Linked DNA regions of Homo sapiens: regions 2, 3, 4, 5, 6 and 7 are each linked to region 1. The links are contacts of gene promoters, found by promoter capture Hi-C in blood cells and fetal thymus (Javierre and others, 2016). All regions are on one chromosome and are shown on one strand. Each heading gives the region's core, a stretch centred on a gene start or on the middle of the fragment in contact. The rest is flanking DNA. Distances are from core to core; before and after follow the strand shown. Region 1 holds the start of U2SURP (U2 snRNP associated SURP domain containing). Region 2 overlaps SLC9A9 (solute carrier family 9 member A9). Region 3 overlaps DIPK2A (divergent protein kinase domain 2A). Region 4 overlaps SLC9A9 (solute carrier family 9 member A9). Region 5 overlaps SLC9A9 (solute carrier family 9 member A9). Region 6 overlaps SLC9A9 (solute carrier family 9 member A9). Region 7 overlaps SLC9A9 (solute carrier family 9 member A9).

The links. Contacts are between HindIII fragments. The CHiCAGO score rates a contact against its expected background, and 5 or more counts as called.
Region 2: a contact is called between a fragment that was not itself captured here and the fragment with the promoter of U2SURP in region 1, in 2 of 17 cell types (naive B cells and M2 macrophages). The highest score is 8.1, in naive B cells.
Region 3: a contact is called between a fragment that was not itself captured here and the fragment with the promoter of U2SURP in region 1, in 6 of 17 cell types (non-activated CD4 T cells, fetal thymus, activated CD4 T cells and 3 more). The highest score is 8.8, in non-activated CD4 T cells.
Region 4: a contact is called between a fragment that was not itself captured here and the fragment with the promoter of U2SURP in region 1, in 1 of 17 cell types (total B cells). The highest score is 5.5, in total B cells.
Region 5: a fragment that was not itself captured here is called in contact with the fragment with the promoter of U2SURP in region 1 in 3 of 17 cell types (naive CD4 T cells, fetal thymus and total B cells); the score reaches 6.2 in naive CD4 T cells.
Region 6: a fragment that was not itself captured here is called in contact with the fragment with the promoter of U2SURP in region 1 in 1 of 17 cell types (naive B cells); the score reaches 7.4 in naive B cells.
Region 7: a fragment that was not itself captured here is called in contact with the fragment with the promoter of U2SURP in region 1 in 8 of 17 cell types (naive CD4 T cells, fetal thymus, non-activated CD4 T cells and 5 more); the score reaches 14.6 in naive CD4 T cells.

The regions. Positions count from the first base shown.
Region 1 is chr3:142,999,945-143,003,334 of GRCh38, reverse strand. U2SURP (U2 snRNP associated SURP domain containing) reads right to left here and starts at 1,765. Exons shown (of 28, transcript NM_001080415.2): 1 at 1,662-1,765. The coding sequence starts at 1,706. PAQR9-AS1 (PAQR9 antisense RNA 1) reads right to left here. Exons shown (of 5, transcript NR_125393.1): 5 at 2,245-2,308. LOC100289361 (a long non-coding RNA gene) reads left to right here and starts at 1,868. Exons shown (of 1, transcript NR_034032.1): 1 at 1,868-2,490. RefSeq lists enhancers at 1,404-2,053, 1,328-2,327, 3,327-3,390. The HindIII fragment of the contact is 1,896 bases long and covers 647-2,542 here.
Region 2 is chr3:143,681,590-143,685,022 of GRCh38, reverse strand. The region is part of intron 5 of SLC9A9 (solute carrier family 9 member A9); the gene reads left to right. Among named protein-coding and RNA genes, the nearest start is that of SLC9A9, 170 kb to the left of the region's middle. The HindIII fragment of the contact is 3,732 bases long and covers 239-3,433 here.
Region 3 is chr3:143,976,155-143,979,468 of GRCh38, reverse strand. The region is part of intron 1 of DIPK2A (divergent protein kinase domain 2A); the gene reads right to left. Among named protein-coding and RNA genes, the nearest start is that of DIPK2A, 6.0 kb to the right of the region's middle. The HindIII fragment of the contact is 1,255 bases long and covers 1,399-2,653 here.
Region 4 is chr3:143,843,168-143,846,391 of GRCh38, reverse strand. The region is part of intron 1 of SLC9A9 (solute carrier family 9 member A9); the gene reads left to right. Among named protein-coding and RNA genes, the nearest start is that of SLC9A9, 3.7 kb to the left of the region's middle. The HindIII fragment of the contact is 179 bases long and covers 1,353-1,531 here.
Region 5 is chr3:143,771,635-143,775,167 of GRCh38, reverse strand. The region is part of intron 4 of SLC9A9 (solute carrier family 9 member A9); the gene reads left to right. Among named protein-coding and RNA genes, the nearest start is that of SLC9A9, 75 kb to the left of the region's middle. The HindIII fragment of the contact is 8,302 bases long and covers 1-3,533 here.
Region 6 is chr3:143,710,881-143,714,404 of GRCh38, reverse strand. All of the region lies in intron 4 of SLC9A9 (solute carrier family 9 member A9), which reads left to right. Among named protein-coding and RNA genes, the nearest start is that of SLC9A9, 140 kb to the left of the region's middle. The HindIII fragment of the contact is 760 bases long and covers 1,358-2,117 here.
Region 7 is chr3:143,750,303-143,753,458 of GRCh38, reverse strand. All of the region lies in intron 4 of SLC9A9 (solute carrier family 9 member A9), which reads left to right. Among named protein-coding and RNA genes, the nearest start is that of SLC9A9, 97 kb to the left of the region's middle. RefSeq lists enhancers at 1,274-1,393, 1,454-1,803. The HindIII fragment of the contact is 1,824 bases long and covers 660-2,483 here.

The sequences.
Region 1 (3,390 bases), core at 516-3,015:
TCTTCCCACTACATTATGCAGCCTCCAAATTAGTTAAGATATTCTGATTCCTTTCACAGACATCAGTAAGAAATCTGCTAATAGCATCAAGAGATTATAATCTAAGGCAATATAAACAGAAAAGATTACTGGATAATCCAATAATTTATTTATTGAGAACAGCCATACATTCAGTCATGAGAAGCACTATTTTAGAAGGAAGCCTGAACACAGACATTGAAATGTTTTCAATGTATCCAAGACCTCAAGTAGGGAATACTTAAAATATTACTTTGAGAAGAAACAAAAATTGTGAGGCTTATGCACGACTTGTTATGAACGTAGCTAGCTTTAGTAATAGCTCCCTAACGGTATGTTCTTGTCAGGAGTCTGTTGAGAAGAGTTGGTAGAGCTCGCCCCCAAAGAGAGGGAGACGAGAAAATGTACTGAGGAGGGGGAAAAAAAACTGACACAATACCTTGTAAAGAAGCCGAAACTGGCCCCTCACCAAAGTTTCTATGTAACTAAACGATGTCTGTTAAGACCATTACTAATTATGAATTAATTATTTTGGTGTACATCGTTCACCAAATGGCATAAACAGTCGGATTAGAGAAAGCAAGTAGAAAACGAGTTATGATGTTTCTCAGAACTGTAAACGCAAGCTTCTCTCCTACCGTAAATTTAACTTTCTAATAGCCGATTTACAGTCACACACTCTTTAAGATTTAACAGTCCCTAGCACCTGAAAGTGTTACACAGCTTCTTGCATCAGCATCGGAAAGTTTAACTACCTCGTGGCAGTACCAATTACTTTTAATATATTCGAGACCAGAAACCCAAACCAAAAAACGATTAAATGTCCCGCCCAAGATGGCAACTAAGAACCCAACCGTACTAATGCTTAACTACTACCACAGCTCACTGGTTTCACAATACGTGCCCAGGGTTCCCTGTAAACACAAATGCAATTTACTAATCGTATGTAGCTTACAAGTCTACGGAGCTTCTCTTTTCACTGTTTCTTCAACATAAAGAAAGAGACCACGAGTCCTCTACCCTCAAAAGTGCTTTTTACTTCCCGTTAAGGTAAAGACCACGTGTAGACTGTACATTAACCTTGGCTATGCAGCACTGCAAAGGAGAGCTGCTCCCGCCTCTGCATTTCCCACTCCGTGTCTTTGCCCTAGTGGTCCTCCCCTCACAGCTGGCGACCCTAGAGGTTATTCATTCCTTGGAGGGAAACTGAGGGAGGCCGGAAGTGAGTGAGATCCAAAACCGAGAAAAAAGCAGCAGACATTTAAGCACCGGGAAGCGATTCCCGCCTCTCTCCCAGGCGCTGTCTGGCGGCCTCAGGGCGCAGGAAGCTGAGATACAGGAGAGCGTTTTCACTGCTTCAGACCTCAATCTGAATTCCTGATTTCACTCCAATGCCAAGCGCGGGCCGAAGCACTCACGCCTCCACCCACTGGGCACGCCAGTCTCGAGCTGAATCCCGGCTGGGACTATGGGGAGATACCAGGCCTCTCAACCTGCGCACAACGGTGCGGCGGCGCCCGGGCCTACCGTCGCGACTAGAATGCAGACCCCAATCCCAATCGCCTCTCACAGGCCAGAAGCGTCTGTGGGCCCCAAACGACAGTGGTAGATCCGCTGACTTACGAAATTTTGTCAGAAATTACCTTTGAACTGGCCTTCTGAGATCCGCCTGGCGTTTTGTCCGCCATCTTGAGCTTTGCCCCTCCTTCGGCGGCGGCAGCAGCACGGGCGAGTCGAGCACCGAAAGAGCGGATCTCAGTGAAGCCCGCCAGAGGCGCCTGCAAGGCTGAATAGTCGACTGTCGAGATAGCGACCTTAGGGGCAGCCGCTCACGTGACTTCCGGTGTCAGTAATTTCCTCAGCCGCGCTCACTCCGCTAGTTTTCCTGGGAGTCACGGTGCTTGGTCGCGTTATTGGGTCCGGGAATTCAGAGAATCAGGGCCAGCTGATACTTCACCCTCTTATCCCAACGCCAACCCTTGATAGATGCGAACCAGTCGTATTTCCTTTGTGGGAAAGGAGTCGCTTTTTAAAGACGTGCACTGGCCATCTAGGGAGGAGCTTTTACTTCAACTCAAAATAGGACTGGAGCTGACTGGTGACCTGGCGCTCGATGGACGGAAACGCTGTTCTTGCCGCTTCGGCAGCTCCCATACTGGTGGGAGAGGCAAACTTGCAGTCTGCTCATCTTAAGATGGTGAATGTTGAGATAGGGTTGCTCCCGAAAAGCCGAGAAGAGGAGCCGTTTGACCCAACTTGAGGGTGATCCGATAGACACTCTTTAGGGCGTCTGCAGAGTGGGTGCGCGTGGAGACAGTCAATAAGAGAAAATCGTAAATACAGATGGTATTCTAAATCTAGCATGCATGTAAAGTTGTGTGACATTTTAAAGATTACATTTTACACTTTAGTATTGTTTTCATTTTTAATCACATAAATGGGGGAACACCATATTAAACTTTTCTGAACTTAGTACTTTTTTAAAAAGTTCTTAATCAGGGCCTAGATTCAAAGACGGAAAGCTTGCTTGAGAAGGCCATGCCCGAATCAGGCCAGGCAAGGAAAGAAAGGACATTCCAGACAGAGGGAGTAATTGAGGTAAAAGCCTGTGGCATGAATCAGTACAGCCGATCGTGCAGGTCACCTAAAGCAGTCGTTTTATTAGACCAGGTGTGGGGAGGGACGTGGTTGGACAGGGGTGCGGGTGCAGGTTCACACAGCGCCCTGAGGTCACCATCGTGCTTAGGAGTTAGAATTCTGTTCTCAGAATGAAGATCGGCCTTTAACAAGGTTGAAATGGTCAGATTTTTATTTTAAAGTATTGCTCTGAGGACTAGGGTGGGAGTGGAGGGCGTTTGTGGACCTCTCCCTAAATCATTTATTCAAAATATTTTTGAGCCCCGTTTTGTGTGTAAAAGCCTGCCCAAAGTGTTGTAGGGCTTACAGAGACAGACAAACATGCACTGTCTTCATATGATTTAAAACTTAATGAGAAATGGAGGAGACAAGGAAACCGCAAACTGACACTATGCATAATTAAATTGATGCTGCAAGGAAGGATCAATAGCTGAGGGACCTCTGAAAGAAGTAATTAATTCTGAGAGTAGGAGTGAGGAAAAGAGACGGGGCGGGGCAGGGGGGGGGGTGGTCATAGAGAAGAAAGCATTTGAACCAGCTCTGAAGAAGTAGAATTTTGTTGAATGGCGGGGGTGGGGAGCGAGGGAAGCACTTAGAACAGGATCTGACACAAGGCTGGCTCTCAAGAAAGATTAACAGACATATATGCCAGCCACTAAGGAATCAGCAGGCCAGGCCTCCTATTCTCTGTGAGGGTATGAGGGTAGAAGAACAGACAGTAAACAAGAAATGATC
Region 2 (3,433 bases), core at 855-3,354, 680 kb before region 1:
AAACCATGACCCTTAATAGAAATACTGTAATAATTTAAAATTGAGTATTAAATACAAATACAGTATTAATTACAGATACAATGCACCACATAGATTATACCATTTGGTAAAATATAGGCGATTTATTTTTATGAGATTGAATTAATATGTCTGAGATTTGCTTTCTAAAATCTCTCCTCCCAGTCTCATTTTTCTGCTTTGATGCATAATAACCTATAAACTACTTTATACCCAAGCTTCAGAAATAAAAGAGGGTAAATATCTATATGATTCAAATATCATATATGTGCCATTTAAACCACAAATACTGTAGCCTCTGACTTGGGGACAGTGGATTAAATAAACTCCTGCCCAAATGTCTCAATTGTATTCTTTTTGTAAGAATATAAATAAGTTCTTAAGCCTGACAATCTCAGCATTGTTTTTGAAACACCCATTACTGTTTTCTCTTATGTAACATGTCACAGGTTCAAGAAACTTGGTATTTATATTACGTTAGCATGGTTTCAAAGTGTGTTGACACATTTAATGTTCCTAAATTGGGTAGACTCAATATGAAAAGTAAATACTTATCTAAAATGAGTAAAGGGAGACAACCTGCATAGCCAGCTGGAAAATACAGTCCATGATTTTTTTCATCAAGTTCAGATTTTAAAAATCTATTTGATGTAAATTATTAGTTCAGTTCTCTCACCAAACAAGGCAAAATACACAAGTGCTTAATAGGATCTATTTCTTTATCTGTATCATCATCAACACTAGATAATATTTAATGACTAGATCATCACAGATGCTTCACAATATAAAAGGCCCATTGAGTTCTGCACAGTACATAATAAATACTTATCAAATAAATAGAGCAGTCATTGAATATTAAGAACACTGTTCGTGGTGTGGGACAGTCATGTTTAAATCTTCATTTTATCTGACTCACTTGGCCTCAGTTACTCCAAATATAAAATGGGACTATAAGGTTTATTTTAAAGGTTCTTGATAAGGATTAAATAAGATAATATGTCTTATTTTTATTGTTATGTTGTCATCATTATTTTTATGCTGCACTAAGATGGGGCTGCTATTTTTCCATCAGTATAATACAGTGAGACATGTATATTTTTGCTTGTTTTCATGATAATAATGAATTTCCATGATTCTTCCTACCTGGTTAGTTCTCCCGTGACCAACTATATTCATTTGTGAGTTGCCTGGTTAAAGTTGGGAGTGTAATATATGTAATGTGATAATTTTGCTTTGAATAAAACACAAATATACTTTGACATCTATTCTTATAGATGAGAGGTCATAATTTTTAAAAGCAAATCTCAGACATTATCATTTTACCCCTATGTACTTTGGTACCCATCTCTAAGATGAAGGACATGGTTCTTACATGTCGTGACGGCACTATCCAACCTGAAAATTGTTCCATAATCCATTGGTATTATCTAATAACCAATCCACACTGAAATTTTCCCGATTTTTGCCCTTTGCCTTTGATAACTCAAACAGGTTTCACAAGTGATATTTAGTTGTCTCTTCTCTGCGTTCTCCTTTAATCTACAGCAGTGCTCCTTCCTACCTTTTTTAAAAATGCTATTATTGAGAAAATTGGGTCAGTTCTACAAGATGTACCACATTCTGGATTTGTCACTTCCCATAGTATCATTTAATTGTTCCTATATCCTCATATTTCTGTAAGTGAAAGTTAGCTTCAGAGAGTCCTGATTACTTAGATTCGAATTCCTCAGTTTTTGCAAGAATGTTCAATAGGCGATGCTTGATCGATCACGTTGCATCATATTAGAAGTCACACAATCACTTTTAGTTTAAGCTGCTACTTATTTCATCTAAATGGAATGTACAGAACTTATCGCCACCCTTGGTCAAATAATGCACCCATAAATAAACTACCCTTTTAAACATATAATTTTAAACATAACCACAATTCCATCATCACACCTAAAACATTAATAGTAAATTTCATGGTAGGCAAAATAATGGCCCTCCAAAGATGCCCATACCTTAATCTTTAGAACCTGTGAATATATTACCTTAAATAGCAAAAAGGGATTTACAAGATTAATTAAATTAAGGACCTTGAAATGTGGAGATTACCCTGGATTATCTGAATGGGCCCAGTTTAATCACATGGGTCTCTGAAAGTTGCAGAACTTTTCCTGGCTGCAATCAGAGGAAGATGTGGCTATAAAAGAAAAGGGCAGAAAGATATAATGTTGCTGACTTTGAAGATGGAGGAAGGGGGCTAAGAGCCCAGAAATTTTGGTGGCCTCTGGAAGTTGGAAAGGGCAAAGAAACTGATTATCCTCTTGTGCCTACAGAAAGAAATGCAGCTCTGCTACCCTAATTTGATATAACTGAGACATGTGTTGAACTTCTAATATACAGAAATATAAGATAATAAATTTGCATTATTTTAAGCCACTAAGTTTGTTATAATTTATTACAACAAAAATGACAAACTAATATAATGTTAAATATTATAAAATATATAGTTTAGTTAAAATTTCTCAACTTATACAAATTTTTATAGCTGCTTTCATTGATCCAGACAATGTATGCACAATGCTTTTAGATATAAAATGAATGATTTAAAATAATAAAATTGTAGGATACTTTTGTGGAAAGAGCTACTTCCTTTAATTTACCACCCTTGTTTTATAAAAGAGCAAACTAAGGTTTAGAGGTGAGTGACTTGGCCCTAGGAGAGTCATTTCAAAACTTAACATTACAATCACTTTAAAAAAATTCATGAAGGTCAGCAGTGGATTCTGGGAAAGTAGTGACTTTAACTTGGCTTTCTTGCCCTTTATTACTGTAATTTATCTGATTTTCCTAAGGCAAAGAGGAGTTGGTTCCTATATGCAGCTGAGTCCTGGTGAAGCCTTGAGCTTTATGCAAACCCTACAGAAATAACAGATAGTGAGCTTTCTCTACAATGAGTAGCATGAGCCTCTAGATACCAGTTTCAAACAAGTCTTTAGATGGAGACTGGAAAGCTATGAATCCTGAAAAGTGGTTTGGGTTGTGGAAATCTGTGGACGTTGGTGGTAGGAAGGTGGTAGTAGTTGACATTAGCCTGCATGAGTGAATTTGATTCTTTGGTTACTGGGTAAGGGACCTATCTCCTCCAGGTACCTGAAGGGTAGCCCACCTGCTTCTCCATCACTGGCCTATCTTCTGCCACTCAGAGGACTGCTATCACAGAAGGTAGTCCAACAAACAGTCTTAAACTCCAAAAAGCTGACAAAGAAAGATAAAAGCACATCAAGACTTTTCAGCAGCCTGAGGGAGGAAGACTGGTCAGAATAAACAGAGCACACACCCAGGAAATAAATTCCTGAAATAGTCAGAATATAATTTGAACAACCTTATAAGAAATCTTATAAAAAGAACTCAGCAACGTTAGTTGCAC
Region 3 (3,314 bases), core at 777-3,276, 980 kb before region 1:
TTACAAATCTTTTAAGATTCTGTCTCAGAGTCTAAGGTCTAGACTTAACCTGTTTTTTTGTACTACCATTTACCAATGTACTAAATAGAATTACTAAACTATAATAATGATTTACAGAGAAAAAAAGAAACTATTTGCCTTTTACTTCTTAATCCTTATCTAAACCGTCTTTCCTACCATATTCATTCTATTCATTACACTTCATATGAGACAAATCCCTAATCCCCTTTTAAACTACTATTTTTAAAAAACTATAGCCTGAATAGGTACATATGATTTACGTATATGTAAGGACAGTGACATTTGAATGTCTGCAATAAGAAAAGTAGGATTTTTACATTTCTAAGACAGACATCAGCATAATGTACTAAAGAACTTTTAACTACTATAGCTGTCTAAAAATGGAATAAGCTGATTTTCAAAGAAATAATACACTGTAAAAAGCTTTACAACTGAAAACATTTAACAGATATTACTTGAATAATCCTTTCTTCTTTAATCTTTAAAACAATCCTGTTAGGTAAGTATTAACAACCCCATTTTACTGATTAAAAAAACTTAGAATCGGAAACATTAAGTGACTTGCTCAATACCATCCAACAACTTTGTGGTAATACAGAATGTGAAATGGATGCTCTATCAATACTGCCCCCTCCACCCTTCCTCCCACTCTCCACCCCCATCTATTGGCAAAATCTCTGAAACTTTCCCTGGTACCATTCCTATCAATATACAATGAGATGTCCCTCCCTGAGTCATGTGACAGTATATATATATATATATATAGATATATATATATCTATATATAGATATATATATATATATATAGATATATATATATATATAGATATAGATATATATATATAGATAGATAGATAGATATAGATACCTTTTGTACAGGGCTTATTAAATGGATTGTATAATAATTAGTTATTTGTGTACCTACCTCCTACATAGTAAGCTACTTGTTTCCTACGGCCATCTTTCCATCCTTTCAATCCAAATGCCTTGTAACAGATTGTAAAATGAACAGACAAATTCAGTTCTTTTGGTTATAAATTCAAAGAGCTCTCAAGAATTTCACAGACAACTTCCTATCACCTTATACTAACCTCACCTTACACTAATAATTTTCAGTCATGTTACAACCATTTACTAAAGTTCATCAAATGTATTAGAAAAATGCAGGATTTAAATTATAAGGCCATAATTTAACATATGGGTAATGAGTGAAAGCTGAAGAAAGAAAAAAATAGCATTCTGTGAAGAGTCAGCAGCAATGACAGAAAAATAGGAAGTAAGCCAGAGCCCACAAACCAAAAAAACAGAATAAAAACCAGTCTGACAATCCCCTGAGAAGCTGGACACCCATGTCCAGAAGACCTATAAAAACAAGCTTTCTATTTCCCAACATGTGTGAGAATATGTGCTAACCTATGCAATGGAAATATAAAGAATAGTTCAAAGACTAGACAAAAGTATACAAAGGACAAAATTCAAAATGGTCAAAAGATATGGATATGTCCAGAAACTAGTCCAGGATGTCAAATGACTTTGCTCTACTGATTCTGAAGTGATGCTTTCTTAAGGGCGATTGTCTGTTTCTAGGGTCTTTCTAAAATAAAAGTCCCCACCCCCTTTTTGGACTTGAGGTATCCAAAATTGTTTTATTATTTTTGTTTGATTATCTTGAAGAGCAATCAAAAGTGTCAATGGACTCTCAGATGAAAAGCCACAAAAAGTTCAAAAACTTACAAAATTTATTAGATTAAAAACTGCTCTACTAAGAACCATCTCTAATGTGTTCTGAAGCCGAAATCTAGGAAGACAGTTACTAAAGAAACAGCCAGTAAAGGAGAAGTAGGTGGTTCCTTAAACTGTTGTTTGAAAAGAAACTCCTGAAACAAAGTCTGGAACATCGTTTTGCACACTATTGCCTCACAAGATCCTTGGCTACCCTTAACTCCACATATTTCCCCTTAAAGGAAGGTTTTGGTTTTTGTTTTATTTCATGTGTGTAAAAATTTGGGGGTAGGAAGAAAGGCTTGAAAGAGAGCATCCCACTCCCAATCCCCTTTCAGAAGAGCTTAATTAAACCCACTCGTTAAAGTTCAAAAGAAAACAACAACAACAACAACAACAATAAAAACCAAATTTCTCAAGAGTTTGAAAGCCCCAGAATGTTGGAGCTGAAAAGGATCTAATCCAATAGCTTCATTTTATAAAGAAGGAAGTGAGTCCAATAGTAAAAATCTATCAACTTTTCTAAAGTACCGTTAGCTAAATAATCTTTTGTTTACTTCAAAAACTACATTTTCACCAGTGAACTTAAAAAATATGTTGTTCCCTATATAAATTACTTTTAAAGGCAAAAACAACATTCACTGAAAGTTTTCTACAAAAAATTATATCAAAGTAATAATGGAAAAAAATCAGTATAACTAAAGTATGGTTGATATTCAAAATCACCATTATTTTTAAGGTGATCCATACCCCAAATGAGCTTCAAAACAGCTGATCAAATGCACCAGGCAGTTAAAGTTACCTTTACTTTATTCAATATCTAACATTTATTGAATGCTTACAATTTACCAGATACTACGTGAAGTGCTTTGCATGTATTATATCATTTATAAGAATAGAAAAGCAAGCTTAAAAACCATAGCTTAATGATAGTCATATACTATAAAAATAAAGTAAATCCTATTAAAACCATGATTCAGAAAATTTAAGGCAAATGAAGTTCCACAAATAGTAACATTCCCAGCTCGTCCCCCTAAACAACAAAGAGCTTTCTCCATTTCCTACAAACAAGACCATCTTCACTACTTCCAGGTTATAAAGTCAGAGATTCTGTCTGAACTTCAACAAATCCAGACAGCATCTCTCTCTCTCTCTCTCTCTCTCTCTCTCACACACACACACACACACACACACTCTCCCTTTCTGTAAATTCAATAGGTTAAATACAAATACGATGGAAAATTTATCAACAATAACTTGTGATCTTGCCAATTACTTCAACAACTCAATTTTTGAATACTTCAAGATTCCTATTTACACAATATAAAAGTCAACATAGTTCCTCTCCTCCATTTTTTTTTTCATAGGATTACAGTATACCTGGCACTAAAATACACACATCTTAGTGAAGTAAAAATGTGACGACGAGGAAAGGGTATCAGAGTAGAAGATAAAGGTACTACTAGCATTATCTTGTTGCTTGATGTTTATAAACATTTTTTAGAAGATAATAATTCTATGGGTAAACTGTTGTAAACTAGTGAAACTATCCAACAATAAGAAGAAAGCCA
Region 4 (3,224 bases), core at 193-2,692, 840 kb before region 1:
AAGTAATCTGCAAGGATATGGAATAGAATCTGAGAAGCCAGAAACAATGTAATTCTTGATATCATATTAAAGGGACATATGTGCTTTAGCAAAACTACCCAGATTTAATAGATTGCCAACCTTTATTAGAGGGAAAGATTTCTTCACATCCCTGAATTTGATTGAACTATGACTCATTTACCAAGTTCAATGGTGGGGATATTGTTTTCGTAAAAGTTTTGATAACCTACTAAAATTCAGTCATGTTTTGCATTCACAATACATACAGTAACTCTTACTTTTGAATCTGAAAAATTCCAGGTTACCTTTAATCCTGCAAAACTCTCTGAAATATTTTTAAATTGTGCTTGAAATAATAAAATAGTAGTTCATTGACCACTGCTATTGAGGTAGCATTTCTCTAAATTGCTGTTCTTAAGGCAGATAAAGGCTTAAAGTTTATGAGTGGAATTAAGTTGGGTTCTCTGATTCCTATTCTTCTTTCATGAGTTTTTTAAAGTAAAAGTTATTGAAAGCAAATTCTGAACCAGTGCAATGTAAAAGGATTATAAAAATTATGGAGATATGCATATATATGTATTCTCTTACTAGAAATTTTGAGTATCTTTCAGTTATCTTGAACTATATAGATCAATGAAAAGACATATTTTAGTGATGTTTAACTTTTTCTTGGCATAGAATCATAATTGTTAGGATGTCAAAGAATTTTAGAGGTTATCTTCTCTATCCCCTTTATTTTAGAGAGGCAGAAGCTGAATCCCAGAGAAGTGAAGGGACTTTCCAAAACTGAATAGCCACTCATGACTGGTCCATGTGCTTTCACTCATCTGCATGTCTTACTAAGGTTCACGTTCACCTGAAAGAACTCTCCCTGTGTTTTCTGAAAGTACTCCATATGGGTGGCATTCATGACTTGTCACATTTCTTCTTCAGGGATGTCCTAAATGTTATATCTTAAATGCTTATTAGGAACTTTCTATCAGTAATGTAATAAAATAGTCTGAAACTACACCAGAGGAACATGATGGGATACTGTAGTAAACACTTTTTAATGATAGGGGAAAGGAGATGCCAAGTGAATTAATTGTCCAACAGCTATAAATGAACTTGGAATCATAGATGGGGAAGGAGCCTTAAAGATCATAAATCCAGCATTCTCATTTTGCAGACAAACAAATGAAGACTTAGAGAGATAAAAGTCGTGTAATTAGTTAGCTGTTGAGGTGGGATTCAACCTCCATCTCTTTAATAAGAGATGCTAAGATATTTAAAAATAAGTAAATTATTGCAATAATTTTCCTGGAGAAAGGATGTGTCTGTGGGATCTAGATGCATCCTCATATGGTTAAGCTTTCAGGATTAGCCAGATTCTCTTTTCCAGGAGGTCTAAAAGAGTGAATTTTCAGCATCCCACATTGTACTATCCCCCTTTCCATTAAAGGATTAAACTCTTAGCTTTTGCAAGAGCAGGGGGGCATGGTGATAACTAATGGGGAAGAAAAGAAACAAAACTATGTTTAAAACTTAAGCTTTTTGAGCTATGATTGTGCCACTTCACTCCAGCCTTCACTCGAGCCTAGGTGACAGAGTGAGACTGTGTCAGAAAGAAAGAAAGAAAGAAAGAAAGAAAGAAAGAAAGAAAGAAAGAAAGAAAGAAAGAAAGAAAGAAAGAAAGAAAGAGAAAGAAAGTTAAACTTTTAAAATTTCTTGTTCTTAAGGAAGTGAACATTTGAGAGTAGACTGTAACAGTCATCTCCGTGCTACAGACACATATGCTTGTAATGAAATATATTTTAAGATTTAGTGGACCTGCACCTAATGCTTATCAATGAATTTGGCTAGCAACTCCCCTACTCCACCGAGTACTGTTCTTGCTCTCACTATTTGTATAATGTATTACTTGTCCTGTATCAAGAATGATAAATGTTTTTCCCCAGCATCAAATTTCCTATAATACTTCAGCCTATTCTGCCATCTGCTTTTCTGCCAGTATTCCTTTGACATGTGTCAAATGTTCTTTAGAAGACTCGATAGATGTTGAGTCTATTTTATCAATGTACCTGAGAGTCCAATTTAAAAATTCTAGAGAACAGGGGCTTAGAAAACAAGCAGTTTAAAAAATGCAGAGAAAAGTGATCAAGCAGAATGTTTAATGTTCTTTTATATTTCTTGTTAGAAATAATTTTCAAGTTGCTAATCTTAAAATATCATATGAACACTTGTAGAGACCAAGAAAAATTGTGTGGCATTTGGCTAGACTCTGTGTCAATCAGAGATTCATATGATACTCCAAATAGTATAAATAATCCATTATATAAAAAATAGGTTTTTCTTATTATTAAGGGTCATAGGAAGCTTATAAAAATTAGTGGCAGCTTTATAACCATATTTTTGCTTCACCAGGAACAGTAATGGGTAATCTATTATGATATTCGATGGTTCTCATTTCAAAATTGAAGGATTAGAATCCATAACTGGTTTAAAATATAAGCCATAATGATACTCATTTAAATTGGACTGGAAGCATAAATGACAATTAGCGGTTAAAGTATTGATTGACAGCAGCTGGTGCACTTAGTACCACTCACTTAGGGCCTGTATCCCCTGTTCAGTGCTCATAAAAGAAATTTGCTCCTTGCTCCCTGACAGCATTAAGAATTCCATTATATATCACTGGGGGCTGCCATACTTTACAGGACATTTATAATCCTGTGCATTTGAGGGCTGGGATCTGAGCTTAGGGACAGAGCAATTTAAACCTCTTAGAATTCTGCCTTTGACTTCCTGGCCTTCCCATAGAAGTTAGTCTGAATTCATGTAAAAATTGTGGCCACTGTTTAGTGGGCACATAACAAATTTCAAGGCACTAAGTTTACATTTTGAATTCATTAAACTATATCATATTAAAGCGTTTTCAGATTCTTTAAGAATGTGCTTAACAGTTAAGTAGGACAAATTTAATTCACTCAACACCAAGTTTTTCAAGATTTAAAGAAAATACAGTTACATAGTGAATCATCAAGGATTGAAAAATTATCTTTTCTGAAAAATCTTCTGCAGGCATTAATTTCTTCCTAGCACTCCCTGCAGGTTCCTCAGGATTAAATTGGGTTGTTGGACATGTTGGCTACACCCTCCTGATCCATTTTACCCTCCTCCAGGACAGCCCAGCCTCCCTGACTGCCAGGCCTATGGGAGATGCTTCCTACTACTTCACCCCCTTC
Region 5 (3,533 bases), core at 804-3,303, 770 kb before region 1:
TTCTATCTTTGGTCTACTGATACTTGCATATTCAGGCTTTAAGTATGTGGTTTTTGATCCCCTTAGAGAGGGGGTTCTAATCTAACTGATCTCAGCAGGTACGGTTCTCTCTAGTGTTAGGCTTGAGACCTGGAGTCCATTACAAAAATCAGCAGTGGGATTGGGAAATCCAACTCCAGGCTACCTATTCCTATGCCAGGTGAAGACAAAGGTTCGTGGTGGAGCACTACTGTGGGATTAGAGAAGCCAGAAAAGCTGAGGAGAAAATGAACGGAGGAGGCAACCGAGCAGTTGAGGCGAAGCAGACAGGGTCCCAAAGGGGCAGGGGAGCGCACTGGGTCATTTTCACCCAGCTGTGGTGTGGGCTTGTAGAGATAGTGCCAGGTCAATTTGAAAGGTTCCAAATAGGCCAATGAATATATGTATAATATAAAACTTTTTAGAATTGAAAGATATTACAATGTATAGTTCAACTTTTGATTCTCCAACATCATCTTACTTTTTTCCTTGTTATAAGTTATAGTATATGATACACATAATAACGTAAGAGCTAACACTTCCAGGCTACTCTGTCTTATGCTCTAAGCACTCTGCATATACAAATCCAGTCAGTCCTCACACGCACCCTAAGAAGTGGGCAGTGTTGTTGCCTTTAATTTACCTATGAGGAGACTGAAGCCCAGAAGGAGTAAGTGCCATCCCAAACATCACATGGCAAATGGGAAGAGCTGGGATTTGAACCCAAGCCGTCTGGCTTCAACCTGTGTCCCTAAACAGTACTCAGTGCCGGTATGAAGTTAGGTAGCATAATAATAAATCAAACTCCTGGAAAGCCCTGACTCAACTTCAAAAATAAAATATATCACTGGGCCCAGTAAAGGCGCTCCCACACACCTTTCCCAGACATCCCTTTTAGTTGAGTCAAGTCCCGAAAGGTGACGTGGTTGGCCTGTAGTTATTATATCTTGCTGAGTTTAAAATCCAACTGTTCAATTATATGGATGCTACGTAGTAGCATAAGTACATAAATAGATGTTTACTAGTTCACTGATTATTTATTGAGGGCAATAAAATAGAATTTTGCCTTATATGCATTTTTGGCTTTTTGTTTTAAATTATCCCCTTATTTGATGTTAAATAAACACATCTGTTATTGCATTTGCATTTGAAAAACTTTTAGGCTGTAATAGTCACTCATTAACTAATGAACTAATTAATTCACCAACATTTGTAAAACCCCTACTGAGTGGCAATCACCATGCTAGAGACAGGGATGCAATGAACCTCACACTGGAAATGGCTTGTACCACTCATGAGACCTAATGGTTAATGTTTCAGGAACTTTGTGAACAAGCCATCAAACACAACCATTGTTAAAAATTAGGGCCAGGTGTGGTGGCTTATGCCTATAATCCCAGAACTTTGGGAGGCCGAGGTGGGCAGATCACCTGAAGTCAGGAGTTCGAGACCAGCCTGACCAGCATGGTGAAACCCCGTCTCTACTAAACATACAAAATTAGCTGGGCATGGTGGAGCATGCCTTTAATCTCAGCTACTTGGGAGGCTGAGGCAGGAGAATTGCTTGAACCCAGGGGGCAGAGGTTGCAGTGAGCCAAGATCGCGCCATTGCACTCCAGCCTGGGCAACAAAAGCAAAACCCCATTTCAAAAAAAAAAAAAGAAAAAGTAAAAATTAGATTACATAAACATACCAACATATAAATTATATTAAAAACAAAGTTAACAAATACTAAAAACTCATAGCTTCCCAATTTTTTTCTATATTTTATTATTAATCATGCTCTTGAGGTTGTGTACATGTATTGTAGCTATATGGTGGAAATGCAACTTAAGAATGTGCTACTGAACATCTCTTCCCAACTCCATGTCCAGAGACCTCATTGCTAGCTTGAAATTGGCCATTGTGTGAGTACTTACTCCATGGACATTTACAAATGCTACAAATCAGGGCTTTTCCCCCCAAAAAGCCACTTATTAAACGTTTAGCACCACAACACTAGTTACAGTGAAGATTAATATACAACCTCTAGCAAAATACAATTATTGATCTAATGGGACCAGTAATTTGAACAATGCATACATCAAAAAAAATGTTTTAAAGGCTGAACAAAACTATCAACTCCACCATGATTTCCAACAATGATCTTCTGTATAGAATTTTGCATCTCATTCAGTTCAGCTCTGATTTTGGTTATTTCTTTTCTCCTGTGTCCAACCATGACCACTTAAAGTTTCATCCTTAACATAGTTAAAATCAACCCAATTTCCATGTTTTCTAAAGTTGTCAGTGTTCTCTGAAATCTGCAGATGGAAATGGAGAGCTGATATGACGCTTCTGAAATTGGCATCATCCAGGTGGGACTTTTGGGCAGTAGCGTCTATAACGTTTCCAATCACAGCTCTGTGACCTGTTTTTCACAAACCGGACTTGGGGCAACCACTCAGCTTATTAATCAGCACCTCACAATAGCTGTCATGTCTCTTCTTTAAGGTGAAAAGGCATCTGCGGTATTTATCTAAGAGTGTTTAAGTGCTATGGTAGTGGCTACAGTTCCTTCCCGGACCAGCTTGTGCTTCATCTAGGCAGAGAAAATTCTCAGAAACATCCATGGAGTCTCTGGGCTTCCATGATGAATTACACATGATTTAACCTGGAATTTGAGGCACTTCTAACTAGAACCTTCCTTCCCAAATATCTGTACTTGAATACATTTTAATCCTCAAGCCTGAGTGTACTAGAACAAATTTTTTTACTTTTTTCTGTAACTAAAATTATTTTCTGTTTTGATGCTTTACTATGCTGGGTAACTGAAACTAAGTCTCTTTCCCTGGGACCGTGTCCAATTCCTGGAGGCCTTGGAGCACGAAGGTGTCACAGACAGAGCCCTCTGCTCTTGGTTGTTAGTTGGGTACGCTGATTCACAGAGGTGATATACTCTGGATTTCAAGCATGTGTCCACACACTTCACTTCTACACCCTTGCTTGTCCTGGCAGCAAAGTAGCACCAGGGATGCCAGCAGGCTGGGGCATGTCTGTGCCACTCTCAGGCAGTGGGAAGCATTCTGCTCACCCCCCTCCCATTGTCCAATACACACACACACACACACACACACACACACACACATTCTGGGGATGCTCTGAGGCTGTCTTGGACTCATCTGCCCAGCCGCAGCTCAGCAGACCCTCTGACCGTCCTGAGCATTTCCTCCTCTGTCCTCCTGCTCAACCTGGAGGAGACCTGGAAAGGGGACTTCTTCTTCTTCTCCATCCCCTCAAGAATGAGATGTGGTCCCTTCTCCACCCCCTGGGAAATGAGACAAGGAGGTGAAGTCCTCTGCTTCCTGCCTCCAGGTAATGACAAGAGGAGAAAAGAGCCTGGGAGGGCTCCATTCCTTTCCCAGCAAGAAAGGTGACGAGGGACAACAGCAGGAGCACGGAGGAAATCATGTCTTATTAACCAAGTGTACTCCAAATTCCAGTAAAATTCCCAGATATAATTAAGGTGTTTCCTG
Region 6 (3,524 bases), core at 488-2,987, 710 kb before region 1:
ATCACATAAGGTGAGGAGGTAGGGATGTGTCCAGAATGACTTCAGTTTTCTGGGTGGGAATTGGTGCCTTCATGAAGAAAAGAGACACTGGAATAATGCCAGGGTTCTGGATAAGAGCCTTTGTTCAGACTTACAGGTGGTGAGTTTGAGGTACCTGCAGGTCCTCCTCAAAGCCAGAAAAGGATCCTTCGTGTTAAATGTGATAGAGAGGCTGCTAGACTTTCTGTATGGTCATCTGGGAAAGCAAAATGAGTTGTGTCCCAATTCGGAGGAGTTAAATGAGTTTTGCAAATGCCACCTTCTATGTCCTGGGAAGGTTGAGTTTTTCGACACAGACAAGAATAACTTCATCTGTTGTCATTCTAATCGCAAACTGAGAATTTGTGAAGAAGCCACAGTCAAGTTTGGAAAAATAGTGCTGGTTAACAAAATCAGTATCCAGTGCCAGATTTTGAGTGCTGTCAACCTTTTTAAAATTTTTGCTTTGATAACTGACTAAATGCTAGAAAATATTGTTAATTATACATTTTCCCATCTTCCTCTTACAGTCTCTGCTTTTATTTCTTCCTTCAGCTTTTTATAAAACCATAAAGTTTTAGTTTGAAATCACCTTAAAAGTTATCTCGTTTTATTTCCCAAATTTGCTCCCTCAAGTACACCTGTATGTGTTTTTTGTTTGTTTATTTTGTCCTACTTCCCCCTGACCATGGCAAGAACAATACATGTACCTGTTTTCTGTTATATGGAACAAATCAATATCCCTTTCACAGAATACTTAAGGAATGTTTAAATTTCTTCAGGGAAGGAGGCTCACTACTTCTCACAATCATCCATTTCTACTGCATTCTTTGGACAATTTTTCAATAAGCTGCTCTGACTCTTTGTAATATCCACCTCTTTTTGTTCCCCTGCCTTTCTAGAGCAACATAGATTAAATCCTTTTTCTTTCTTCCTTATGACCACCCTCCAGTTCTAAACTCTGGATACCATGTTCCTTCTTGGGTTTCTCCCAGCCAGCAAACACAGCCCTACAACTCTTACCCACCTAACATGTTTCTAACCTCCAGTATCTTAGGAGGCATTTTCCAAACAGGGTGTTTTGAACAAGAAACTGTGTTAGCTGAGATCCGGCCAATGTTGAATACACTGAATTTAGTATGTCCCAAGGTCTGCACAATAAGCTTCCATTGATACAGTTCTCTTCCCTCCATCCTACCACTCCTTTTGCGAAAAATCTGCCTTCTCTTTTCATCTTCTCTTGTCACTTCACTGAGTCTTGGGGATTTTGTGTTGTTTGAATAATTTTCTGATGTGAAGGATTAAACCTGTTGAGCTATTTGTGACTTCCTGGAAAGCTTGCCTTTACCATCTTCTGTTTGGGTTCTTCCTCTACTTTCTTCAGGGGGATCTGAGATTAAATGTGGTGGTGGATGGTGTTGGGAGAAGTGGTCACTTTGATACACACCTGAGACAAAACCACCCATAAATTCCCAAGATCCAATACAAAGAACCATTTAAAGGAGTAATCTCTTCCCAACAAGGTCTTGGCAATTTTCTGTAGTGCAATTAGATTTTTAAAAAACACACATATGTTTCTTTGTTGAAAACAGCTTACTAAAGGCTTTTCTTGACAGCTTCCACATTGAAGCCTTTCTCAACTCACTGGTTCTTTGAGGGAGATGGCTAATGCTAAGTCATCTTTTGTGTTTCCCAAAGAAAGTAATAGCTGGAAGAACTAAAGAATCCATTGAGTCATTCAGTAGTGATTATCTGGTAACAATACTAAAGGAGGACATTATGCCCATTTTATGGACAAAAAATGGAGGAAAAGAAGAAACAGCTAACTTGCCTAGGGTCAAAGAGCTAGAAAATGGCCTTCTACACTGGATTGTAATAGTTTGTTTACTTCTCTGTTACCCCCGGTAGATTGCTCGTTATCTTTTTTCATTCTATGCCAAGCAACTGGCCAAGGTGCTGGGCATATATTAGTCACTCAATTAACAGTCTATTATATAGCTTAATAAACTTAATTCTTTCCTCTTCCTCTGAACCTCAGTTTCATAAAGGAAGAGGCACCTATTCTTTCTGTGCTGCATCCTCAAAGATCAAATCAAGCTTGATAATAGCAGGTGCTTTTTTCCCCAGAGAAGTAGAGTTGTTAAGAAATCACATCATCAACTGTTGGGCCATTTATTATTCTTGACCCTCATTTGCAGATGGTTCATGAAACCATCTGTAAATAAAGGCCAAGTTCTGCCTTACAACTGAATTCAAAGCCTGCTCAACTCAAATCAAATGGGGACTTGCAGAACGGTGTACGTTTCAGTTCAGTGCTAACAGTGTAAAGCCAGTCCATATATCGAGGTGATAGGGATTAGTGGGTAGGTTGCAGGGCCATAGATGAAGAGTAAGTTATAACAATTCTCTGGTATTGAATAGAGCAGATAACTAGGTGATTGTCAGAAATATTTCCGTAGATTGTTCAGAATTAGCCCCATGTAGCTCTAGCCCTGGAGTTTGGTCAGTTAGTATTATGTCAGAGACACTTGTGAATAACAAGCCTTAGCAAATCAAATTACCTTCCTTAACGGATACTTCTGTTGCTGGAGTGGTGAGAAACAGGAGTAGTGATCTCAAAGCTCAGGATCTATAAGGAAATAATTATAAGAGTAAACGTTTTGGCCTGGAGCTGTGGCTCATGCCTATAATCCCAGCACTTTGGGAGGCCAGGAGGCCATAGTGGGAAGGGTCACTTGAGCCTAGGAATTCAAGACCAACCTGGGCAAGATGCTGAGTCCTCTTCTTTAAAAAAAAAAAAAAAAAAATTTTTTTTTTAAATTAGCCAGGTGTGGTGGCACTCACCTGTAGTCCCAGCTACTCAGGAGGCTAAGACAGCAGGAGACCTTGAGCCCAGGAGAAGGAGGCTGCGAGCACCACCGCACTCCAGCCTAAGTGACAGAGTGAGACCCTGTCTCTAAGAAAAAAATTCTTTTTAATTTTTTTTAAAAGAGTAAACCTTCTATTGTTCTTTAAAGCATTTTGGTGGTTTCTCCTATATTTGATTGGTGAGTAAAACCTATTATTATAAGAGAAGCCTATAAAAAGTCTGTGTACTCTGAAAAGTGATTCAAAATATTACAAAAGTTCACTTTACAACTGCAAAGAAATTTCAAGTAACAAGTTGTATTACATGCATCACAAACAAAACAGACCAGTTGAAGCTCTCCGTTCTAGATTTAAAAGGTTTCAAAAATATATTTATGTGGTTGAAAACCAAGAATCAGGGCAAGGAATTGATGTTTGATTTTTATCACTCACAAGATAAATTGTTCATTCTATCTTGTCACTAATAATAACATATTTTAAAACCATCAATCAAAGAGTAAATAGTGTAACATCCTAATTTGAGTTAAATATGTTTAAAGCATCTACATTATTTATAAGTTTGTTACTTGTCAGAAAATTGATCTGATTGGGGAAAATCCAGAGAGTTGCATTTTCTTGTTATTTACATTCTATTGCAA
Region 7 (3,156 bases), core at 322-2,821, 750 kb before region 1:
AATTCCACCTTGTTCTTTCATCCATCCAGAGAAGGGACTGGAGCTCTGTATGCCTTGCAAAAATAGGGGATGGGGAAAAGAAAGCAGAGCTTTTAATCAATGTTTGATGTCTCTGCAAAGTCCAGCTAGTCCTCTATTCACCAACTTGAATGCATTTAGTGTGAGCAAAGTGATACATCGACACTTTTTTTTTCATGCAGGCCAAATCCCAATTTCAAGGAGGCAGAAAAGCTGTCCAAAGGTCATAAAATACAGTAAGGCAGAGCTACAGCCTGGAGGCAGATGTGAGCTTTCTAAAAGCAGAGCAAAACTTCTTGGAGCCATTCTGCTCCAAGGGAGTGGGGAGAGAGGAGTGAAGGTCTGAACTTCAAATAAGTGTAAATAAAGCATTCCTCCTGCTCTGATTTTAATCTTTTCATTGGCTGCTTTCTGGGATGGAGTACCTAAGTGAGTGGATTTGCCTACTTACTCAATAAATCAAAGCTTTTCAGAATAGGATCATCAATAGGGACTCCTTACGCCAGGAAACTGTAATTGGAGGTAAATATTAATTCCAGAGGAAGGCCTTTGAGCCCAATAAGTGCAACAACAATATGTCTCTAAGGAGCCACTTCTTTTCTTTTCCATATCCATTGGAAGCAGATTATGGGAGCAAAGCTTATCTCCCATTTTTATCCATTTTAACAATGTTCTACCTACTGCTAAACTGAGCTGCCTTAAGCTCAGTACAAAGCCCTTTTCAGAGCATCTAACGGATAACTTAAAAAAAAAAAAAAAAACCTTTTCACATAGCTCTCCTGGTACCCTTTCAAGAGTTGCGGCTCTGTGCAGGCAGCCAGACTTGTGCTGGCTTTTGGGGACAAAAGCACACCAAGTATTATAACTACACTCATTATTTTAAGTTGCCGCCATACTCCTGCTCCTACCTTCTTTCTTTCTTGCAATGTTCACCCTTACCTCCCTTGAGATGGGCAGACCTATGGAGGCCGCTATGCTTTTTCTTTGTTCACTGGTCAGGAAAGCACAGTGAGCATCTCTTGTGTTAAATCGTCTCAGCTTTATCAGGCAACGGTGCCTAAAACTTACGGTCTCATCTGGAGACTTACTAGGCTGCCTGTGGCTAATACGATAAAAAAGAGAATTCAAAACAGGTGGAATGGGGGCCAGATGTTTCTAGAAGCCTGTGAATAGTTTGTTTCCATATCACCAGAGATAAAGGTGGACTGCTGTTCTCTCTGCTAATGAGAGAGATCTCTGGAATCTCATTTTCTTTCCACATAAGGATGGGGTGGTGTGCACTCTGCTGCTGCAGCTGAGGAGATTTCTGAGAACTCTGTGGTTTATTTTAAAATCTCTCAACATCACTTTGAAGTAAGTCTACTTTGAAGTAACTCTGAACCTGTTTCTGAAGAGTTTGATGTGTGTCTGAAAGGCGATTTCAGTAGTCCTCTCCTCCCAGCCCTGGTTCTTCCCTCTCCCCAGCTGCCATGTTGGCCTGAACAGGTTTTCTTACAGTCAGCCTCACTGAGGATGCCCCAGGCCCTGGCCCAGAATCACACTCCACTCAACGCAGTGCTGAGGAGAAAGGCAAACATTGCCTATTTCATTTGAGTCTTCGCTGTGGTCTGCTTCTCCCTGTACCCCCAGCTGCTTTCTTTCACTTCCTTTCAGCATTTGCCTGTTGATGCCATGTCTGCCCGATCTTGAGTAGTGTCATACTATTTACTTCCTGTCATCCCTCTCACAGATAGGCTCCCTTGGAAGCCAACCCTGAAGCAGAGGTTCTTGTGCACAGATTAGGGAGTGCTTTTGGGATCAGACCTGTGGAAAGAAGCGGTGGGAGGTAGGAGGGTGCAGAGGAAGTTGAACTACAATGCAGCCCCTCACCAAAGCCCCAGCTGACCCCAAGGAGTGGGGACTCTGGAGTCAGGATGGCCCTTCAGAGCTGTCTAAACTGGCACAGGAGACCAGGTCTTCATATGTTTATAGCATCGGATGTCTCTGGAAAGCAGCATGCCCTCCAGGAAAGATAGCTTCCTTCAACCAAGGAAATCCCCATAGGGAGCTCAGAGCTAAGGGCCCTCTTTGCCGCAGTGGGGGGAATAAATTCTACATCTTCAAAGGGAGATGAAGGCTAGGCATCATATCATCCACCACCAACAATTAGGTGGATCTGCAGGTAACCTCCTCCTGGTGGTTTTAAGGTGAGATACTTAGAGAAGGTGATGCCTTCAGAGAGTCTGCAACCTTTTCTCCACACAGCATGAGCCTGTTTAGACAGCAGCAAGAGCTGCACTCTTGACTCGCCCTGCAATATCAAACTATGGTCCCAGTTAGCCTGGCTTCCAAAACAGAACTGCCCATGAACAATGACTTCCTATCTCCTTGAAGCAGCATCTGATGTGCATCTTCTCCAGCAGCCCTGAAAACTGGTTCTGCCAGCTGGAGAGGGGAGAGCCAGCATTTAGACTCAACAGGAAGCTTGGATTTCAACAGAGAAAAAATACATAAATATTTATCTAATCACATAATTAAAGGAAATCTACTGCCCCATACAGTTGCAATCTAAATAACCCACTTCATTAAAATGCAGATGTTCTTGCGAAATTCTTTAAAATTTTTTCAAAAGGTTCTTTCCTCCATGGGTTTGTTTTTTAAAAGAAGAGACAAATATTTGTTATAAATATATAAGATATATAATTATATATGTATATATATATATATAGATATATATTTAACAGCATTTTGTTTTTACTCTGTACCCTCTTCCCATTTGACTATACAATATTATCAGTTATTAGTACTCAACAAGGATATTACCAAATGACATCATAAAACATTTTCATCTTTCACCATTACAGGACAGCAGGCAGATTTGTCTACACAGGTGAGGGAAATGGAGAGCTGAATTATTCAGTGAATTTGATTAATGTTTATGTCAGAGCAGGAACAAATGTATCAGTAATGGGAAGTTCAATTAGTGCTTTAATTAATTAGGTTCCTGTTTTTAGCTCTATTGTGAAAGATAATTATTTGTTAGCTTTGCTTAGGACCTGGGCTAAGGCCTTGATTACAGGTATTAAAAAATATAATGCAAGAGAATTGGGGCTCTGAAGAAACTTAAAGCTTGTGACAATAGAAAATGCCAGTGAAAAT